5 separate regions of the Homo sapiens genome follow, and regions 1, 3, 4 and 5 are each linked to region 2. Evidence: promoter capture Hi-C in human tissues and cell types (Jung and others, 2019). All regions are on one chromosome and are shown on one strand. Each heading gives the region's core, a stretch centred on a gene start or on the middle of the fragment in contact. The rest is flanking DNA. Distances are from core to core; before and after follow the strand shown.

What was found. The method cuts DNA at HindIII sites, captures the fragments that hold promoters and counts their contacts. A contact is called where the count stands out against the background at its distance.
Region 1: a fragment that was not itself captured here is called in contact with the fragment with the promoter of LRFN5 in region 2 in 1 of the 25 tissues and cell types used here (dorsolateral prefrontal cortex).
Region 3: a contact is called between a fragment that was not itself captured here and the fragment with the promoter of LRFN5 in region 2, in 1 of the 25 tissues and cell types used here (dorsolateral prefrontal cortex).
Region 4: a contact is called between a fragment that was not itself captured here and the fragment with the promoter of LRFN5 in region 2, in 1 of the 25 tissues and cell types used here (dorsolateral prefrontal cortex).
Region 5: a contact is called between a fragment that was not itself captured here and the fragment with the promoter of LRFN5 in region 2, in 1 of the 25 tissues and cell types used here (dorsolateral prefrontal cortex).

What each region holds. Positions count from the first base shown.
Region 1 is chr14:39,755,891-39,758,886 of GRCh38, reverse strand. The region is part of intron 5 of LOC105370461 (a long non-coding RNA gene); the gene reads right to left. Among named protein-coding and RNA genes, the nearest start is that of FBXO33, 320 kb to the right of the region's middle. The HindIII fragment of the contact is 4,081 bases long and covers 1-2,996 here.
Region 2 is chr14:41,605,362-41,608,211 of GRCh38, reverse strand. It overlaps LRFN5 (leucine rich repeat and fibronectin type III domain containing 5), which reads right to left and starts at 1,336. Exons shown (of 6, transcript NM_152447.5): 1 at 1-1,336. The HindIII fragment of the contact is 3,229 bases long and covers 1-2,850 here.
Region 3 is chr14:39,950,508-39,953,330 of GRCh38, reverse strand. No RefSeq gene overlaps it. Among named protein-coding and RNA genes, the nearest start is that of FBXO33, 520 kb to the right of the region's middle. The HindIII fragment of the contact is 4,701 bases long and covers 1-2,823 here.
Region 4 is chr14:43,149,308-43,152,067 of GRCh38, reverse strand. No RefSeq gene overlaps it. Among named protein-coding and RNA genes, the nearest start is that of LINC02307, 1.2 Mb to the left of the region's middle. The HindIII fragment of the contact is 3,324 bases long and covers 1-2,760 here.
Region 5 is chr14:39,968,298-39,971,397 of GRCh38, reverse strand. No RefSeq gene overlaps it. Among named protein-coding and RNA genes, the nearest start is that of FBXO33, 540 kb to the right of the region's middle. The HindIII fragment of the contact is 5,096 bases long and covers 1-3,100 here.

The DNA.
Region 1 (2,996 bases), core at 111-2,610, 1.8 Mb after region 2:
TGGTCATGCATCCCTTAAATGATGAGGATACCTTCTGAGAAATGAGTCCTTAGGCAATGTTGTTGTTGTGCAAGTATCACAGAATGTATACCCCTAGATGGTATACACCTACTGCACCCCTAGGATATATGGTATAGACTATTGTTTCTAGGCTACAAGGCTATACAGCACGTTACTGTACTGAATAACACAGGCAACTGCCACGCAATGGTAAGTATTTGCGTATTTAAACATAAAAAGGTATTGTAAAAATATAGTATCATAATCTTATGTGACTACCGTATATGCAATCTGTCATTGATCAAAATGTCATATGTGGCACATAAGTTTATATCAAATGTTTAGGAAAATGCACAAATCATAAGTACATTACTCAATAAATTTCACAAATTGAAACCAACACACAGATGAAGAAAGATTACTAGCATCCCAGGATCTCCTATGAGTCCCCTTCCAGAGTAACCACTGCATTGATATCTAATACCAGAGATTAGTTTTGCCTGTTTATAAACTTTATGTAAACAAATCATCCATGCACTCTTTTTCATCTGTTATAACTCAAAATTATATTAGTGAGATTTATCCATGTTATGCATAGTTGAAGTTCATTCTCACTGATGTATGTTATTCCATTGTGTGAATTCATCACACTGTATCTATTCTACTGCTGATAAACATTTGGGTTGTCTTCATTTCAGGGAGACTCCATTATTCCTCAAAAATAATGCTGCCATGAACATTCTAGTACATGTCTTTTGGTGAACACATATATGCATTTTTGCTGTGTATGTAATCTAAGCATCCTATGATCCATGTTGTCATAAGAGAAGCATATATGCAGCTTTAGTCATTATTGCCAACCAGCTTTCCCAAGTGGTTATACTCATTTACACTGTCACCAACAGTTGATAAGAGTTGCCATTGGTACACATCCTTTACAACACTTGGAATTTTCTTTTATTTTAGGTCATTAGTTTATAATCACACTGTAGTTTTAATTTTCATTTGTCTTATAACTAATGAGTTTGAGTACTTTTTGTATCTTTTTTTTTTTTTTGAGACGGAGTCTCACTCACTCTATTACCCAGGCCAGAGTGCAGTGGTGCAATCTTGCCTCAACACAACCTCGGCCTCCAGGGTTCGAGTGATTCTCCTGCCTCAGTCTCCCGAGTAGCTGGGATTACAGGCACGCTCTACCACGCCCAGCTAATTTTTGTGTTTTAGTAGAGACGGGGTTTCACCATGTCAGCCAGGCTGGTCTCAAACTCCTGGCCTCAAGTGATCCTCCCACCTTGGCCTCCCAAACTGCTGAGATGACAGGCATGAGCCACTGTACTTGGCCAACTTTTTTATATCTCTTTTGGCTATTTGAATATCCTCTTTTGTGACATGACTGTTCAAATCTTTTGTCTATTTTTTCTATTGGATTGCGTCTCTTTAATACTTACTTGTAGCAGTTTTGTTGTATATTTTAAGAATAAGTCTTTTTTCATATATAGTACAAATATTTTTTTCCTAATCTGTGGCTTGGCTCTTTATTTTCTTAATGGTGTCTTTTGATGAAGAGAAATTCTTAATTTAAATGTGGGCCAATTTACCATTCTTTTTACTTTATGTGTTAATATAAGTTTGTTCTCCATGTCATAAAGATATTCTAATATATTTTCTTCTAAAGCCATGTTGTTTTACCTGTTATATTTAGATACATGGTAAGGATTGTTTTTTTTTTCTCCAATGGTATCCAATCGATCCCAGTACCTTTTATCAAAAAGAGCATACATTATCCACTGCAGTTCAGTGTCCTCTCGGTCAAATTACAATAAGGGTCTGTTACTGGACTCTCTATTCTATTCCATTGGCCTATTTTTATGCCAAGAAGATACTGCCATAATTACTAGTTCTATAAGGTCCTAAAAGGAGTGATGAGTATGTGTCTGTGTTGAGAGAGAGAGAGACATCATTAGGATAAATAGAAAACAAAGTTAAATAATTTTTTGTTGTTTTTGGTTTTCATTTACTATCTGAATTATCAGAAACCTTATTTTATACGTTAAAGTGTATTATAATTATCTAAGAGATAGATATATGCTATTTCCCAAAATTAAATTTAACTATGGAACATTTTTTTCCACGGAGTGTCTTATAGGACTAGTGTTCTAAGTAATGCACTTTGGGAAATAAATACATGTATGTTTTTAGGTAGTAAAAGCTGAGCCTCAGGCTAGATCCAAGTTGTTGATAGCTCTCAGCATGAGACTGCATTTCTAATTTTCTTCACAACCTGTATGAGGTCAATTACATTAAGCTCTCAACATCCAGGTGCTTAAAGGCAGACAGATCATCTATTTGTTGGAATGCAATTACAAAATTTAAAATCCTCTTTTATATCTTTCTTAGCACTCCTAGATCTTAAACATTTTTGGTGCCTCATCCTTGATTCAGAATGAGAAGATCTGACAGAATTAGTTATTTAAAGACAAGTTTTAGCCACTTGACCTTCTGAGATGTCCATAGTTATTCACTCAGTTCAGGTAAAGTAAGCACAGAAGAACCCATTACAGTCACCTGGATTCTCACAAGTTGTAAGCTTTGAAGCTCTACTTCTTATTATTAAAGATGGCAAAGAGTTCCAGAGATGAAAAGAGTTCATACTAAAAAGTCATGTGACCCTCTACTTAAAGTTTGTCTTATTTAAACCATAGTCAAGGCTTTGAGTGCTTTCATCACCTAATGTAAGGCCTGTCTTCTCCCCACCCCCATCATGATTATGTCTGATTAGAAAGGGAGTCTTGGACACATTTTATGTCATAGGATATTCAAAGCCATAAAGATGCCATAAATAGAGTTTTAAAATTTCCCAATATTTGCTCACATTCAAAACATCTTATGATTTCAATTTATGAAAAGAAACCAGTGTTATTGTATCTATATTTAACATTACAGCAACTCACTAGAATAAGTGTAAGTATTTTAGTCTAAGAAAGAAAAAATATTTT
Region 2 (2,850 bases), core at 87-2,586:
CACTCGCACACGCACACCCAGCACTGCACGGGGAGGAAGCAGCACGGAGGGAACCGGTCCTTCTCACGATTGGCTTCGAAGCCCACCGGACCGCGGGCAGCAAAGAGAGCGTTCTCGCATAGCCCTTTAATCACGTTTCCTTCAAGTTCTCCTCCAACCCGAATCCACGTAATTCAAGAGCTGGTGACATTTTGGTGGGGAGGAGGGAGCCGAGAAAGGGCTGAGGAAGAGTCGGGGATTTTGTTAAGCAGTTTAATAAGCAATCCTCATTACCTTATTTGTTTTGTTTTGTTTTGTATAGCAAACCAGTTCGAAGGGCTGAACTTTTGGCTTCAAATGCTGTGAACCAAAACGTAAATATCCTTCTGGCCAAGAGAAGAAGGTGTAGATACACGGAAACAAGAGGGCTGCAAGACACTCTCTTGACCTTGTGATGTACCTGGAAGCAGGTTAATATTGGCGCTTTCCAAGCTTCTGGGTAAAGCGATCCACACACCTGGGTCCACAGCCCAGCAGCCGCTCCAAATCCAGCCAGGAAAATGGGTCTGGGCGTCCTCAGAGCTCTGCAAGAACCCGGGCATGAAGGGGCATCGCCGAGTTAACACATTTGCTTCTGGGCAGTTGGATAAAAGACAGTCAAATGCATCAGATAGGCGCGCGCGTACACACGCGCGCGCACACACACACGCAGCTAGCTGGAAAGCGGCTTACAAAACACTAGAGACATGCCAAGATGACTTGAAAAGGTAGCCAACATCCAGGATCTTTCCGGAACACAGAAGGGCCAGCAGGGAGGTTATCAAAGTCTTCTCAAGTCTTTCAATTCTTCCTCTCTCCTCTGAGTGTGTGTGTGTCTGTCTAGGTTTCGTTGGTCTGCCCCACCCCCGTCCAGTTGCGCTTTTTTTTTCTGATATAACGGACCGTGCAAAATGGATTATATGGGTGGGCTGTGTTCACAGCCAGAGCTCCCCAAAGTCAAGGATCCTAAGGGAGCAGCCAGCTGCTAAACAATTCACATCCTCAAGGGAAGAAGGAAAAACACGCTCAAACACACGCAAACACGCGCACACACATACATAGTCCTCCGTTCGGGCAGCTCTGCACACGCTCACCGCCTCCCTGCGCGCCGCGGAACACAGCGCCCCGCCCGCTGGCCACCGCGCTGGGGCGAGTCCGCAGTTCAGGCGCGAGGCAAGCAGCCGAGGTCCGGGGCTGCGGCCGCGGCCGGGGCGGACCCGGGAGCTGGGCTTCCCAAAGCGTCGCGTGTGGGCAACGGCGGCCTCCTGGCCGCGTGGAACTGAGCCCTGCGCTGCAGCATGAAGGCGGCGGCGGCGGCGGCGGCGGGCGCGCGGCCGTGAGCTCAGCCCGCGCTGCAGTGACGGGAGCGGCCGTGTCGGCCAGACCCCGAGAGTCCGTGAGACCCCGGCCGGGGCCGCTCCGCTGCTGTCAGCCCTCGGGCCTCCCAGCCAGACTGGTTCTGAACCGATTTATCAGGGGGTTGCGGAGAGGGCCGGCGAAGCGCCAGGAAATCCCCAGGCTGAGGAGGCGCGGGGGCGTTGCAGGAAGGGGGAAGGGAAAAGGCAGAAAACCTGGAGAATGAAAGCGAACTTCCAGGGGCGTCCCCAGCCTCCTGCAAAAGGGCAATTTGCTGATCGCCCACTTCCTCGCAGTTACGGGATAGAGAGAATCATCACTGAGTCAAGCTTCGGCTGCTTAGGGCGGTGGGAAAAGTCATTATCTATAATAACCCGCCGGAAATTTTGAGGAGAGCTACTGACTTGGGGGTTTCAGTCATCTGAGGCTGGCTTCCGCTGTCCCCTTAGTTGTGGGTGGTGATTTGCTTACTAATCAGATGGGAGCGGATTCTGAAAAGAACATTTATATTTGGGAATCAACTCAGCTCAGCATCAGACATTACGAATACTGCAGTTGGTCACATTTTACTATGTGAAGGGCAGAAAGGGAGCCCAACAGTCTTCATAAGCCAGACCTAGTCTCTAAGGTCACCGGCACAGACGCAGGGTCTAAAGCAGGAAAGAGGTGCGACTGGAAAGGAGGTTAGACAGGGCCCTGCGGGAATGGATCTGCCCGGAGCCCTCGCCTGGTTTTGCTTGAGACTCCGACAAGACTCCCAATGCTTCTCTCCCCGACCCTATCCCCACTCCCTCCATCCTGGAAAAGCCAGTGAGCAAAGTTAACTCTTTCTTCTAAGAAACCCTGAGTGAAATCTTGCTCTTCCTTTCTGCTAGAGTCCTGAAACCCTTTCGCTTCTCATTGTGGGTTCACCAGCACGTGGTCTTCGGACACTGAGAGCACCTTCGCTCTCAGCTGTGATCCTAGCTAGCCCAGACACCAGTCTGTACCCAAAGGAAGAGTAGGAAGTTGCAAAGGGAAGCTGGCTAACAAGGGCTTCTTCTGCCCTACTTGGCAAAGGCCCATACGGGTGGCCTCCGTGGATATGGAGCTCCTTCATTTTGTTCCAAAAAGAGCTCTGCCAGGCTTTACCATTGCCCTGGAGGTGCACAGGCGCCCGTATACTCGAGCACAACCATGGGCTCACCCCAAGCGCGCACACCTGCACCCACGCGTAAGGAAGAACCACACAGCTATCTCTGTCGGGGAAGAACACGAGGAGTGAAGTGCTTTAGGTGGAAACTCCTCACATCTCCTTTCTTTCCTCTGCTCCCCCTCTCTGCCCCTGGTACTCCGGATCCAATCCTTGGCTTAGGAATCCACTCAAGCCACGTCTGGCTGCTTTGTTCCAGAGGAGCGCAGCTCCGAGACTGCACTTCAGCGGTGCAGCCTCCCTCCAGGTCGGCGAGCGGCGCCAGATCCGGGACTTCAGGGTCT
Region 3 (2,823 bases), core at 70-2,569, 1.7 Mb after region 2:
AAGTTCCTTGTAGATTCTGGATATTAGACCTTTGTCAGATGAATAGCTTGCAAAAATTTTCTTCCACTCTGTAGGTTGCCTCTTTGCTCTGATGACCATTTCTTTTGCTGTGCAGAAGCTCTTTAATTAGATCCTATTTGTCAATTTTTGCTTTTGTTGCAATTGCTTTTGGCATTTTGTCATGGAATCTTTGTCCATGCCTATGTCTTTAATGGTATTGCCTAGATTTTCTTTTAGCGTTTTTATAGTTTTGGGCTTTACATTTAAGTCTTTAATCCATCATGTTAATTTTTGTAAAAGGTGAAAGGAAGGGATTCAGTTTCAATTTTTTACGTATAGCTAGCCAGTTTTCCCAGCACCATTTATTAAAAAGGGAATCCTGTCCCCATTGCTTGTTTTTGTCAGGTTTGTTGAAGATCAGATGGTTGTAGATGTGTAGTCTTCTTTCTGAGTTATCTCTGTTGGTCTATGTGTCTGTTATTGTACCAGTACCATGCTGTTTTGGTTATTGTAGCCTTGTAGTATAGTTTGAAGTCTGATAACAGCTTTGTTCTTTTTACTTGGGATTGTCTTGACTATACAGGGTCTTCTTTGATTGCATATGAAATATAGTTTTTTTTCTAATTCCGTGAAGAGTGTCAATGGTAGTTTGATGGGAACAGCATTGAATCTGTATATTACTTTAGGCAGTATGGCCATTTTCACAATATTGATTCTTCCTGTCTATGAGCACGGAATGTTTTTCCATTTGTTTGTGTCCTCTCTGATTTCCTTGAGCAGTGGTTTGTAGCTCTCCTTGAAGAGGTCCTTTACTTCCCTTGTTGGCTGTATTCCTAGGTATTTTATTCTTTTTGTAGCAATTGTGAATGGGAGTTCATTCATGATTTGGCTCTCTGCTTGTCTCTTGTTGGTGTATTGGAATGCTTGTGAAATCTGCACATTGATTTTGTATCCTGAGACTTTGCTGAAGTTGCTTATCAGCTTAAAAAGCTTTGGGGCTGAGACAATGGGGTTTTCTAGATATAAGATCATGCCATCTGCAAATGAAGACAATTTAACTTCTTCTTTTCCCATTTGAATATCCTTCGTTTCTTCCTCTTGCCTGATTGCCCTGGCCAGAATTTCCAATACTATGTTGAATAGGAGTGGTGAGAGAGGGCATCCTTGTCTTGTATCAGTTTGCAAGGGGAATGCTTCCAGCTTTTGCCCATTTTATATGATATTGGCTGTCTACTCCCTCACTCTTGATGTCAAGGGAGGAATGGAGAACTGAAAAACTCCTTAACAGTTTTTCTAAAATTTTCTTTTTCAAAAAACCTTAAACTCTTAGGGGAATTTAGATGTTTTAAGCAGTTGGGATACAGATATATCTGAAATACAGAAATATATTTTGTACAAAACACACACACACACACACACATACACACACACACACACACACACAGAGAGAGAGACAGACGCATTCCTAGTTCTATCTAACTTGATGGAGAAACATTCCCCTAGCTCATACTAGAAAAAGGAGTGGGAGAGGAGAGAACAGAAGAGTGTGGATAAACAAAACGAACTTTTGCTAAGACCACTCCTGAGGGTCACGTCAAGCCCAGATCCTAAAGAAGGAATGGTTGTATTATTCACAGTCAGATGGAACCACTAATATAGTGTCCTATGTTCAAGGAGCTGCATAGAAGTTGCAAAGATAATAAATAGAAACAAATGGTCAAAGCAAGCAAAGTAATGTTAACCTGGTTACATAAGGGAATAAACTATAGGCCAAGTAGGACAACAGGTGGCATTTCAACAACTGAGATTGCATTTATGTTTTTTCACAGGCCAACTGTGGTAGTTTTTAGGGTTGCTTCATAAAAAGGAAGGTATCTTTATCTCACCTTAGGCCAACAAATGCTTATCTAAGTATTCACTGGAAAAGCATTCTCTAAATTATAACTCAATCAAATCAAACCACCTATATTCATTTGTATTCTTCACAGAATCAGATCAGGTGACTCACTAATAAACTAGCACCTCCTCTTCCATGAGGCAAGCATTCCCTCCTATAATATTCTTAACAAATTTTCATCCATTCTCTCCCAAAACAGCGTCAGTGACGGGGAGCTCACTGCCCTATTTGGCTGCAAACATCATGATTCTTCCTCATATTGTAACAAAAATTACCTTTCCATAACTTTCCAGTCCAGGGGGCACTAAAGAAAGCAGAGTGCGGACCTGAATCCACAGCATATTGCACAGAGAAGGCACTCGGTAATTATTTATTAAACAAGGGAACAAATAAGCAGTAATTGACCTCATTTTAGCCTCTAGAGCCCACAGAACACTTATTCTTCTATGTAATAATCCTTTAAGTAATGGAAAAGAAAGCCATAAATGTTCACCCTCTCCTTCAAATCTGGTTAGACCTTATTGGGGAATGAATCCCAACACTTCAGAATTAAATTTTCTTAGGCACTTCTCCTTCCTCTAAGCTTCTATGTTAAAGAGCTATAAAGACACATGCATATGTATGTTTATGGCAGCACTATTCACAATAGCAAAGACTTGGAACCAACCCAAATGTCCAACAATGATAGACTGGATTAAGAAAATGTGGCACATATACACCATGGAATACTATGCAGCCATAAAAAATGATGAGTTCATGTCCTTTGTAGGGACATGGATGAAGCTGGAAACCATCATTCTCAGCAAACCATCACAAGGACAAAAAACCAAACACCGCATGTTCTCACTCATAGGTGGGAATTGAACGATGAGAACACATAGACACAGGAAGGGGAACATCACACTCTGGGGACTGTTGTGGGGTGG
Region 4 (2,760 bases), core at 222-2,721, 1.5 Mb before region 2:
AGCATTTTTAAAACAAAAAATAATACGAATCATAAAGACTAAAAGACAAACTGTTTATGTCTATCACTTAATTTTTAGAGCTATTTTCTTTACGACAATAGCAGTAAGGATAATTAGTATACCATAACTTCTATAATATACTATTTAAAACCGAATGGGATCTATTTTTTAATGTTTGGAGAAATTCAGATAACAAAATGTCATATAATATGGTTAATGATTTTTTATATTAATGCTGCCTTAAAAGACATTACAAAGCAGTCAGAGTCCATAAACAACAGATATTTGCAGGGAAATGGAAAAGAGTGCTTTTGTGGTTTAAAGCATTCTAATTTAAATTCATTATCTGTGATAACAAATACTATTTAAAATACATTCTATATACCTCAATTCCCAGAGTTCATAACTTTATTTTGTACAATGTTCAATTTACTGAGAAATGAGGAATGTCATTTGGACTATACAATTCTGAGTGAAATACTTGAGGCAGACAAAACTAAGTGATCAGAATCAAATTTCAGTCTTCGCTCATTTAGAGGACAATTGATGTATACCTACTGCTATAGTCTGAATATATTTCCCAATCTCATGTGCTGGAAACTTAATCACCAATGCAACATTGTTCAGAGGTGGAGTCTATTATAAGGATGGCTCTGCCCTCATGACTGGATTAATGCTGGAATAAAAGGGCTTGCTGGAGTGGGTTCTTTCTCTTCTCTTCCACCTTGTGAGGACACAGTGTTGATCCTCTCTGGAAGATACATCAACAAGGAGCCATCTGACAACCAGAGAAAAGGGTGGTCTATTAATCTTGGACTACCAGCCTCCAGGACTGTGAGAAATAAAAACGTATTTATTTATAAAGTACTTAGTCTCAGGTATTGTGTTATAGCAGCATAAAACAGGGTAAGACACAAACCTATTAGTTTTCTTTCTGTAAATGAATAATTAATATCAATGCCAAGTTATAAAGCTTGGATATCATGACCTATTCTTACTTTACTGAGCTCATGATTAAATATTAGATGACTGAAATACAGGACATGTCCTCAAAAAGCATATATCAAATTTCAGGAAATATTTTTACCAACCCATCTACACTTATAATATAGAAAAAAAGTAGAGCATATGAAGCATTTTTTGATAATAGTCCTTAAGCTTGAAATGCAGTGTCCTATGACTTACACGCATAAGGTAATGGTGAGATTGAACAGGATGTTCACTCAAACTCTATGAACTTGGAACCAAGGATGGGTAATATATTGCAGATTCCTCATAGCATAGTTAGACTAAGCCACAGAATTTTTTTTTAATACATATGATTCAGTAGCTTAATTTAGTTGGAAGTTTAATTTTTCAGGTTAATTTCTCATGTAAGCATAGGTTGGGGAACAAAATGTCAGCAACAATGAAAGGGCCCCTAAATTTCCTAACATTTCCCCAAGACATAAAAAGATATTTAATTTTTCTCCAAAATTCTCTTAAGATCATTATGAGGATGGTTTATAAATAAAGTTTACTGATAGCTGTGGTGTTAAAATAAAAATTGTGAATTATATGTTGTGTGTGTGTGTCTAGAATCTAATATGGCATAGCATATATTGTCGTGTATCAACTGCTCGAATTTTGACTAACAGATGCTTTCAAATACAATCTGTTATTTAGTGTTTTTACCTTTTCTAATTATTTTTTCTCTTTATACGGTAGCATTTCTATTTCATTAGTCTGTTTTGTTTAACTTCCTTTATATTGTGATACAAATGTACCCCCAAATTATCATACAAAAGAATCTGAATAAAGGATCAATTAATAGAGAAGGAGTCGATGATGTGTTTGCTAAGCTGCCTTGAGCCATGAATTTATTATAATCATTTTCTATATAATTTTTCTAATAGTAATAATAATCAGTGACAGATTTTTAACATAGAAACTAGAGCTTTGAAGTAAAGAATAACAAAAAAATTATTCCTTTATTAAGCATCAAATAATATTAATATTTTTTGTTTTCACTAGTGTAATGCACACATTGTACATACAGACAAACATACTTGCACACACACACACACACAAACACAAATACACACTCATCTTCCTTCCCATGTAGTTCAGGCAAATGATCAGGGGGGAAGACCATGAACTTCATAGATCTTGGGGTTCTCCAGAGAAACAGAACCAACAGGACAGATAGGTAGGTAGGTAAATACATACATACATACATAATTGTATAGATACATATATTGACTGCTACATAGATGCATAAATATACCTATATGTCTATCTACATACAGATATTTATCTAAATGATTTTAAGGAAGAGCCCATGGGGTCTGACAAATATGAAATCTGTAGGACAGGCTAATAGAATGGAGATCTGGCCAAGTTGACACATAAAATTATCAATATGTATAAATAAATTATTGCTGTTGGTAACATCTTTGCTTACTTTGTCGATATTTGCATGTACAAAGATTTTCTATGAGTAATGAATATCAGCAGCTACTCTGGATGATTGTTGTCTGTCTCCTTAGGTCCTCCCCAGGACTACCAAAAGAGAAGTTGATATACTTCAAATGATGTATATTTTAAGTCAGATCCTGTCAAACATAAATCACAAAATTTGATGAAATGTATCTAGTTGCATTCAGGTATTTTTAACAAAGATAGCTGATACTTTTATATAAATAAATATGTATTAATTATATGAATATTGTCATGTGGAAAGAGAGGTGATGCCTCCTCCATCAAAGGACACTTGAGCAA
Region 5 (3,100 bases), core at 434-2,933, 1.6 Mb after region 2:
AGAAGCTCAAGAGGAGACTCCTTCCTTGCCTCTTCCCGCTTCTGGCAGATGCTGGCATTCCTTGACCTCCTTGGCTTATGGCCACATGAAACCAATCTCTGCCCCTGTCTCCACACTGCCTTCTCCTGCATGTGTATCTTTCTCTCTTCTCTCTCTTGTAAAGACCCTTGGCATTGAATTTAAGGCCCACCTGGGTAATCCAGGATAATGTCTCAAGGTTATTTAATTATATCTGCAAAAACCTTTTTTCCAAATAAGGTAGTTTTCATTGGTTTCAGAGATTTACATGTGTACATATGTTTTTGAGAGCCAGAATTCAAACCACTATAGTCCACCCTATTGCCCTCAAATATTTATATTTTTCCAATGTGCAAAACACATTCAGGCCATCCCAACATCCTCTGAAATATCAGCCTATCACAGCCGTCAACTGTAAGTATAAAATCCTATCTGAATGTCATGAGCTCAAAAGTCCCAAATCTCTTCATCTAAATCAGGTATGGGTAAAACTGTTAGCAGCAGTGAATCCATATGGGTCTGCAGCAACCTCAATCCTTGCCTCCTCAGAAGAAACAATTTGACCAAGGGGCATAAGGCAGAGTGAAAGACCAAGGCAGAGTGAAAGACCGAGGCATATTTTAGAGCAGGAGTGAAAGTTTATTAAAAAGCTTTAGAGCAGGAATGACAAAAAATAAATAGTATGCTTGGAAGATGGCCAAGCAGGCAACTTGAGAGATTAAGTGCACAGTTTGATCTTTGAGTTGGAGTTTATATGCCAGCATGCTTCCCGGGGGTTGTGTCCCTTCTCTACTGACTCTTTCCTTGGGGTGGGCTGTCCACATTTGCAGTGTCCTGCCAGCACTTGGGAGGGGTCATATGTACAGTGTGTTTACTGGAGTTGTACACATGCTCATTTGTGGTGTTCTTCCCTCACCAAATGTTCCTAGAAGGTCATCTACCACTTAAACTCCACTGTTTTGCCATTTAGTGCACATGTTTGAGCCCAGGCCCAACTCCTGAGACCTTATTGGGAAGCTGCTAATCACCAGTTTCAGGTGTTTCTATTTATTGGAAGACTTCCTTTCCCTTGTACTGGCTATGACCAATTATTATTTTAGAGAGACAGTTAACAACCATCTGACCATCACCTGATGGTTGCCTAACATTCCTGGGTTGGTAAAGGAAGCCTCCCCTGACCTGCTAATGTCTGACTAGCTACCTACTGTAACAAAACTAGGTATGAATAATCCTGGAGCCAAATTCCTCTCCACCTGTGGAGCTGTGAAACTATAAAACAAGTTATCTGCTTTTAAGATAAAATGGTGAGAATGGAATAGGGTAACAGTTATAGATATTCCCATTTCAAAGAGGAGAAATTGGAATAAAGAAGTCACCCATCCCTAGAAAGTCTAACGTGCAGCAAAAGAAATATTAGGTTTCAAGGCCCAAGAATAATCCTCTGTGACTCTAGGCTCCACTCATTGGGCCTGCTGCTCTGGCCTAGTAGGCATCTGGGCCTGTGGCTCTGGGATCATATGTCTCTGGGATCATAGCTCTGGCATTGGAATCATTATTCTTGAAAGGTAGCACATGTTTCTAGGTAAGTAGTTCTTGCAGCCCATTTCCTGCCTTTAGACTCCCAGAAGTCCAATAGCCTTCTTTCATTTTATCCTCTGTCTCTTTCAGTCCAGCCTGGTAGTGTGTCTGCAGACATAAAATCTTCACAAACCTTGTGGATTTCCTAAGTATGTCAACTGGTCTTGTGTCATTAGGGAAGAAGGTCCTCCACAGATTTCCCTGGATAACCTCCTCTCTATTCCTGGCTTCTTCTGACAAGGTTGAGTGTATGTATGATTCCATAAGACATACATCTAATCTCAGCAAAAGGTGGTCCAGCCATACCCTTGGCTTCTCTCCAGAGCATGCTTTCCTAATAGTAGCATCTTTTGCAATCTGTATATATTGCAAATTTCCCAAATCACAAGTGCTGCTTTTTTTGCCTCAATGGTTCCTTCCTCAATTTATCTTTTTCATTTTATTGTAATCAAAATGAAGAAACAAAGCCACACCATTAATACTTAGCTTGGAAATTTCCTTGGCTAAATATCAAAGGCTATCACCTACAAGTTCTGTTTTCCATACAACTATAGGACACAATTTGGCCAAAGTTTTTTCTACTAATTTAACAAGGATTACCTTTCCTCCAGTTTATAATAACATGCTCCTTGTTTCCTTCTGAGCTCTTATCAGAAACATTTTTGCTCATGTCACTATATGTATTATCGAAGATGAGAGAAGCTTTCTCTAGCATGTTCCTCACTTCCTTCTGAGCACTCACCATAATTTGGCTTTTTCTATCTTGGCCTCAAAATTCTTCCAGCCTCTACCTATTATCCATTTCTAAAACCACTTCCATGTTTTTAGGCATTTGTTACAGCAGCACTCCACTTCCCCCTACCAAAATCTATACTAGTTTCCTACAGCTGCCACAACAAATTATCACAGATTAGATGTCTTAAAACAACAGAATTTTATTCTCTTACAATTCTGTCAGCCAAAAGTCCAAAATCAAGATATAGGTAAAAGTAGACTCCTTCTGGAAGCTCTAAGGGAGAATCCCTCTTTGCCTCTTTCCAACTTCTGGTGGCTTTCTGCAATCCTTGGCTTCCTTGTCTTGTGGCTATATCACTGTCATGTCTGCATCCATCTTTCCATTGCCTTCTCCTTCTCTCTTGTGTGCCTATTATGAGTATACTTATAGTTATGTACTTATAAGAATATCAATTGGAGTATGCTTGTAAAAACCACAACCCTAAGGGTCAGATTTCAGAAAAAAATAGAGGGCAGGTGGGGAATTTGTGAATGAAAGAGAAATAAGAACAGCAAACACCTAGCTAAGATCAGCCAGTGATCAGCTGCCTAGACATTTGAGCCTCAGGAAGAAGCACTTGTGCTTTATTCTAACATATCATTTGGTCACCACTGCTCCTATAGACCACAGCAACATTCAGTTATGTACTTTGGCCAGTATGTATGTCCCACAGGTAGACCTCAGGAAAGGGTGAGGAGGAGAAGAAGATTACAAAGAGGAAATGAGACT